Linked DNA regions of Homo sapiens: region 1 is linked to region 2. The links are contacts of gene promoters, found by promoter capture Hi-C in blood cells and fetal thymus (Javierre and others, 2016). All regions are on one chromosome and are shown on one strand. The core of a region is centred on a gene start or on the middle of the fragment in contact, and the rest is flanking DNA. Distances in the headings are between cores, read along the strand shown. Region 1 overlaps ATP8B3 (ATPase phospholipid transporting 8B3). Region 2 holds the start of ADAMTSL5 (ADAMTS like 5).

Region 1 (3,827 bases), core at 951-3,450, 280 kb after region 2:
CTCCATCTCAAAAAAAAAAAAAAAAATAGAAAAAACAATAGAAAGAAAGCGGGGAAGAGGGCTGGGCGTGGTGGCTCACACCTGTAATCCCAGCACTTTGGGAGGCCGAGGCAGGCGGATCACTTGAGGCCAGGAGTTTGAGACCAGCTTAACCAATACGGTGAAACCGCGTCTCCACTCGAAACACATAAAAAATTAGCCAGGTGTGGTGGCGCATGCCTGGAATCCCAGCTACTCAGGAGGCTGAGGTGGGAGGATCCCTCGAACCTGGGAGGCCGAGGTTGCAGTGAGCTGAGATCGCCCTATCGCACTCCAGCCTGAGTATCAGAGCAAGATTCTGTTTCAAAAAAAAAAAAAAAGAAAAGAAAACTGAGCTGCCCCTGCTCCCCACCTACTCTGTCTCAGACACCTGCTCCCACCCCCAGACCCTCAGCTCTCTTTTGCCTCCAGACCTTCTTGGAGGACTGTTTCCCTGCCAGGAACACCTTCCCTATGCTTTGCACAGCAAATTCTTTTTTTTTTTTTTTCTCGGGGGTGGGGGATAGGGTCTCACTTTGTCACCCAGGCTGGAGTGCAGTGGCCCAATCATAGCTCACTGCAGCCTCGAACTCCTGGGCTCAAGTGATTCTCCTGTCTCTACCTTCCAAATAGCTGGGATCATAGGCACATGCCATCACACCCGGCTAATTTCTTTGTATATATATATATTTTTTAAATAGAGGTGGTTTCACCATGTTGCCTGGGCTGGTCTCGAACTCCAGAGCTCAAGCAAGCTGCACACCTGAGCCTCAAAACGCTGAGATTACAGGCAGAAGCCACCACACCTGGCCTGCATGGCGAATTCTGACTATCACTCAAGACCTTCTATGCAGTCCACCCACCCGGTGCCTTCCCCAGCTGGGGCTCCCCCAGTCCCAGGCCCCTCCCTCTGACCCCTCAACTTTGGCTCTCTGAGCCCCTTCCTTGGGCCCCTCATTTCTCAAGGGCCAGACCCAGGGTTGGGGCCTCTAGGGGCTGGGAGGAAACTGGGCAGGCCCAGAGAGCAGGCACCCCAAGGGTGGTCGGGGGGTCCCCAAGGAAGGTGCCCTTACGGCTTCTTACCCCCCGACCCTGCCCCCAGCTTTGTGCTCCAAGGGGTGGCCTTAGGTCTCAAATTTGTTTATTTATTTATTTTTATTTATTTATTTTTTGAGATGGAGTCTCACTCTGTTGCCCAGGCTGGAGTGTAGTGGCGCGATCTTGGCTCACTGCAAGCTCTGCCTCCCGGGTTCAAGCGATTCTCCTGCCTCAGCCTCCCGAGTAGCTGAGACTACAGGCCTGCACCACCACATCTGGCTGATTTTGTAGTTTTAGTAGAGACAGGGTTTCACCAGGTTGGTCAGGCTGGCCTCGAACTCCTGACCTCAAATGATCTGCCCGCCTCCCAAAGCACTGGGATTACAGGCGTGAGCCATCGCGCCAGCCTGTTTATTAAGAGACAGGGGTCTCGCCCTGTCGCCCAGGCTGGAGTGCAGTGGTGCGATCACAGCTTGCTGTAGCCTCCACCTCCTGCACTCAAGCGATCCTCCTGCCTCAGGCTCCCAAAGTGCTGGGACCACAGGCACGCGCCACCATGTCTGATTTCCCTTTTGTTGTTGATGGGGCACGGGTCCAAGAGCTTGGGCTTGACACAGCAGAGGAGCTTCACGGACATTGGCAGCCTCCGACAGGCCTTGACCCTTCTTCCGGCCTCAATTTACCCATCCATTCCCTGGGGTGGCTGAGCTAAGCTGACCTGCTGAGCTCCTGGGCTCTAGGTCATTATTGTGACCGCACTTCCAGTTCAGAGTGCCCCCACATCCTGGCAGAGCAGGGGACACAGGACATCTTCCCACACACACCCCGCTGCCCTGTGCTCCATGCTGCTGGGGCCCCAGCAGAACCTGTGAGGAGCCCCCAGGCTGGACGCAGAATCCTCTGGCCCTGTAGGGTCAGGGCTGGACCAGGGGGAGGCAGCCTGGGGTGATGACAGCCCCATGTTGGCAGGGGGTGGGGCAGGAAAGGCCCCATGTGTGGGGAGCTTGTGGCTGAGTCATGAGGACACCGAAAGCTTCTGAATGACAAAGGTGCAGGGAAGACCCTCCCAGCACAGGAAACAGCATGTGCAAAGGTGCCAAGGCAGCACCTGAGAGTGGGGAAGTCACAAGCCAGAAACTGGGTCCTAGGGAGTCCCTTGGTGAGGCCAAAGAGAGACCAGGCTGGAGAGGTCAGCAGGGGACAGAAAAAGCCTCAAATCCTGGGCCGAGGAGTTCGGGCTTCCCCCACAGAGTGGGAAGCTTTGGAGCAGACGGAGCTGAGTGTGTCCTGGCAGCTGGGCCAGCTCAACCGCACGGTCGTCTTGTGCAAATGAGAAAAATACACCCTTGGCCGGGCGCGGTGGCCTACGCCTGTAATCCCAGCACTTTGAGAGGGCGAGGCGGGTGGATCACCTGAGGTCACGAGTTGGAGACCAGCCTGGCAACATGGTGAAACCCCATCTCTACTAAAAATACAAAATTGGCCGGGCGTGGTGGCGGGCGCCTGTAGTCTCAGCTACTCAGGAGGCTGAGGCAGGAGGATAGCTTAAGCCTGGGAGGCAGAGGTTGCAGTGACTCAAGATTGCACCATTGCACTCCAGCCTGGGCAACAGTGCAAGACTCCCTCTCAAAAAAGAAAAGGCAGGCTGGGCGCGATGGCTCATGTCTGTAATCCCAGCACTTTGGGAGGCCAAGGGGGCAGATCACCTGAGGTCAGGAGTTCAAGACCAGCCTGGCCCACATGGCGAAAACCCATCTCTACTAAAAATATTAAAATTAGCTGGGTGCACTGGCGTGTGCCTGTAATTCCAGCTCCTCGGGAGGCTGAGGCAGGAGAATCACTTGAACCCGGGAGGCGGAGGTTGCAGCGAGCCAAGACTGTGCCACTGCACTCCAGCCTGGGCGACAGAGCAAGACTCTGTCTCAAAGAAAAGAAAAGAAAGACAAGACAAGAAAAAGAAAAAGACGCTCTCTCTCTGGGGGCTACACTTGGGAGTTCAGCTGCCTCCCAGCCGGTGTGTGTGTGTTTTGTGTGTTGCCGGGGGAGGGTGTTTTGTACAGTGCACAACATACCTCACTGTACATAGCCATCCCAGGTACCTGCAGCCTTCCATTTCTCCGTACAGTCTCCTCCCCTGCCTCCTCCTCCTCCTGTCCCTACACACACACACACACACACACACACACACACACACACACACACACACACACACACACACACATAAGCCAGCCTTCCTGAAGGGACTCACAGCCAAGGCCTCCTCTGTGGCAAATTCCATTGCCCCCCTCCTGTGCAAGCGTTCGAAGATGACCGTGTCGGCGCCCTTGGTGTACAGGCAGATGGCGCCCTCTGGCTTTCGAACTGTGGGGGAACAGGCCCTGCTGCCCACAGAGGCTCCCCGTCTGCCCGCCCCACCTTGGGGGGCCCAGGGCTTGGGTGGCGGGGCTCACCCAGCACCGACATCCGTTTGCGCGTGCTGTTGAAGTCCATTATGGCCAGGACCTGGTAGACCCGTTCCTCCCCCAGCTCCATGATCGTGACGGTGTCCTGGGTGCGGGACAGGAACACGTAGCCGAAGTTCCGGGCTGCGGTGACCAGCGCCCCCTCGTCGGGGGAGGCCGCCTGGTACAACAGCTGGTCTGGTAGGGAGGGGGGCCATTTTGGGGTCACGTGGTGGAGCCCGTCTCCATCTCCACAGTGCAGGGAGGAGATGGGTATCGCCTGGGCTACACCTTTATTGATGGTGGCCGGGGACCCCCGCCTGTACAACC
Region 2 (3,413 bases), core at 358-2,857:
ATCCACCTGCTTTGGCCTCCCAAAGTGCTAGGATTATAGGCATGAGCCACTGCACCCAGCCTACAATATTATTGATATGTGTATTGTGCTATAATGCAGACAGTAGGTGCTTAATCGATGCTTGATGATTGGAGGGATCATTCAAAAATAGTACACAGGTGCCTCCTAGGGCTGGGGCCCCCTCCCCGCCCTCCCCACCATCACTGCTTCTACCTTTCCGTGTGGCCTGAGGCCAGCCACTCCACTCTCCCAGGCCTCAGTTTCCCCATCTGTGCAGTGGGGGCCAAGTGGACTCAGTCCATGATTCTGTGACACCCTGCGGAAGGTGCGGCCGGCAGGGGCTGGATCAGGAGTTGGGTCCCTAGAAGAGGCCCTCAGCTGCACCCCGGCCCCAGGGCTCCCTCAGCTCCCAGACAGCAGGGAGTCCCCCGGATTGGGGATGGGACAGGGAGGGGGTGACCTGGCCCAGGTCCGTTCGGTGCCTCATGGCCTCATCGGCGGAGGGGGTGGGACTGAGCTCCGGGGCAGCCCGTGGAGGGAAGGGGCCACTGCTGAGGCTGGAGCAGGGAAGGGGAGGAGGCTGACTGCCTCTCTGGGCCTTAGTTTCTCCATCCTGTCAGGGCAGGGATGAAGTCACTTGCCATCCACACCCTCCTCATGACCCCAGCCTGCAGGGGGAAAGAGGGGGGAAGGGAAGCAGCCGCCAAGTGAGCCAGGGCGTCCTGCTGCCAGCAGAGCCTGAAGGCAGGTGGGTGAGCCCCGGCCCGGGCACCAGCTGGGGAAGAGGCTGGGTCCCACCTGGACCCTGTTTCCCTGGCTCCAGCATTTGGACTTCTGAGGCACCAAGGGTCTAGGGTCCTGGGTATCTCTAGGTACTGAGACAGCTGTGTGGTCTGCTGCATCCGTGCCCCTCTCTGAGCCTAGAGCCTGGGCTGGCCCAGGAAGCAGGAAGAAGTCTGCACCAGAAACTTAAAACAAGGGGAGGGGGGCCAGGTGCGGTGGCTCACGCCTGTAATCCCAGCACTTTGGGAGGCCAAGACAGGCGGATCACCTGAGGTCAGAAGTTTGGGACCAGCCTGACCAACATGGTAAAACCCCATCTGTACTAAAACACAAAAATTAGCCCGGTGTGGTGGTGCACACCTGTAATCCCAGCTACTTGGGAGGCTAAGGCAGGAGAATCGCTTGAACCCAGGAGGCGGAGGTTGCAGTGAGCCGAGATGGGGCCAATGCACTCCAGCCTGGGCGACATAGTGAGACTCAGTCTCAAAAACAACCAACCAACCAAAAAAAACAGGGGGAGGGGGCTTGACCTTCTGACCACCCCCACCGGACTCTAAGCCTGGTTTGAGGAGTGGGGGTCTAGGTGGTGAAAAGTGGGGGGCTACAAGGACCACCCTACCCCCTCCTCAATGGGCCCTGCCCAGAATCAAGGCTCTCCCCTCCCCGTGTGGGCTGCAGCCCGGACTGGCGGAGGGATCTCAAGGCAAGCCGCACCTCTGGGCCTCAGTTTCCCCCGGAGAAAGTGGGAGGATAGGCAGATGGACTTACCGGCTGCGCGGAGCCCAGGCAGCGCGTCCCGGCTCCCTGAGCGGCCCCAGGGCGAGCGGAAGCGGCGGGGCCCAAGGTGCTGGGCGGGGTGGGGAGCCTGGGACGGTCCCTCCCACCGCGGCCTCCGCAGGCGCGCCCAGGCCCGGGTCAGGAGGGGCGGCGGCCCCGGGCGCCCTCGCGCGGCGGGCGCGGATCTGCGGCAGGGGACTGCCCGGCGGACGCGAGCGCAGGGGTCCCGGAGCCGCAGGCTGGTGTCGGGCGCCCGGGTCCGGGTGACCTTGGCAGGCTCGGGCGGGGGCGCGGCGCGGGGACTGACCGCCCTCCTCTGCCCCGGGGCTGCTATTCCGGGCGCCGCGCTCAGGGCCCGGGAATGTGCGCGAACCGAGGTCACCCCGCCCTGGGTCTGGGAGTCCCGGGCGCTGCCCCTACCCCGCCGACGCCCGGATTGCGTCCCACCGGCGTCCCCATCCCCGGTCACAGCCCCCTCCCCTGGTCCTGCCCCTCACCCCTCTCGCGGGGGGTCGACCTGCTCGTGGATGGGGACCCTGGCGCGCCTGGGCTCCCATCCGGGGGTTCCCCGACCCAGGTCCCGGTCACCCCCAGCGCAGGGCCCCAGCGCACTGGGGAGAGGCTCGGCCCCGTGGGCCGCGCGCGGGGGGCGGAGAGACCCTCCCAGCTGGCGCATTCCCGGGCGCTGCTGTCACCAGGGGACGCGCCCCACCCCGCCTCCCGCCCTCCCTGCCGGGCCCCGGGGCTGCCAGCGGGGCTTCAGAGCCAGACCCGGGTCCAGGCGGTCCCTCTCCCTCACAGCCGCGGCCACACCCTCTCCGGCCTCAGTTTCCCCATCCCAGCAGTGGGCCCGGCAGGGATCTCCACCGCGAACCTTCCATCTGGAATCCGGCTCTGCGCGGACCGGCAACGCGAGGGGGCACCCCGGGACTCCCCCCACCCCACCCTTTCCCGCCGGGCGTCTGTGAGCCGCCCCGTGCCCACCCACGCAGGGATGAGACCAGGCCCTGGGTTCTGGGCTCCACCAGTTTCTGGTGTCGCCCCACGGCGCCCCCTGGCGGGCGGGCTGAGGGACTGGGGCACTAAAGGAGGGGGTGGAGGGACTGTCCTGCTCCCTGGGCTCCACCCAGGCTCGGTCTGAGCACCCCCTCCTCCAGGAAGCCCACCCTGCTGTCCCACAGCGCTGACCACAGGGAGAGAGGTTTGCTGGGGACATACAGGGTGTTGCTGGTCCAACTCAGTCTGCCCTCCAGCCTGTAGCATGTCAGCAGAGCCACCCATATGCCATTTATTGAGCACCTACTGTGTGCACAGCTGTGAACAACCCAGCCAGTCCCAGGCCAGCGGGTAAGGCAGCCCCCTGGAATGTATGACCCCCCACCTTCTGACCTGGACTATTGGAGAAAATAGCCCAGGCCCACCACTGATGGCCCCAGGTTGGGGGGTGGTGGTTGCGGGGATGTCAAGAAGGCCCTCACTGAAGGGGTCAAGAGAGAAGGGCAGGCCGGGCGCGGCGCCTCATGCCTGGAATCCCAGCACTGTGGGAGGCCGAGGCAGGCGGATCACCTGAGGTCAGGAGTTTGAAGCCAGCTTGGACAACATGGTGAAACCCAGTATCTACTAAAAATATAAAACTTAGCCAGGCATGGCGGTGAGTGCCTGTAATCCCAGCTACTCGGAAGACTGAGGCACGAGAATCGCTTAAACCCGGGAGGCAGAGGTGGCAGTGAGCCGAGATCACGCCACTGCACTCCAGCCTGGGAGACAGGCGAGACTCCGTCTCAAAAAAAAAAAAAAAAAAAAAAAAGGAAAGAAAGAAAGAAAGAAGTCAGCTCAGGACATGTGTCAATGTG

What was found. The method cuts DNA at HindIII sites, captures the fragments that hold promoters and counts their contacts. A CHiCAGO score of 5 or more calls a contact.
Region 1: a contact is called between a fragment that was not itself captured here and the fragment with the promoter of ADAMTSL5 in region 2, in 1 of 17 cell types (naive B cells). The highest score is 5.4, in naive B cells.

What each region holds. Positions count from the first base shown.
Region 1 is chr19:1,792,571-1,796,397 of GRCh38, forward strand. ATP8B3 (ATPase phospholipid transporting 8B3) reads right to left here. Exons shown (of 29, transcript NM_138813.4): 17 at 3,507-3,695; 18 at 3,305-3,417. Among named protein-coding and RNA genes, the nearest start is that of ATP8B3, 18 kb to the right of the region's middle. RefSeq lists enhancers at 3,040-3,827, 3,260-3,554 and a silencer at 3,260-3,554. The HindIII fragment of the contact is 226 bases long and covers 2,088-2,313 here.
Region 2 is chr19:1,511,412-1,514,824 of GRCh38, forward strand. ADAMTSL5 (ADAMTS like 5) reads right to left here and starts at 1,608. Exons shown (of 12, transcript NM_213604.3): 1 at 1,552-1,608. RefSeq lists silencers at 1,433-1,802, 2,642-2,721. The HindIII fragment of the contact is 11,901 bases long and covers 1-3,413 here.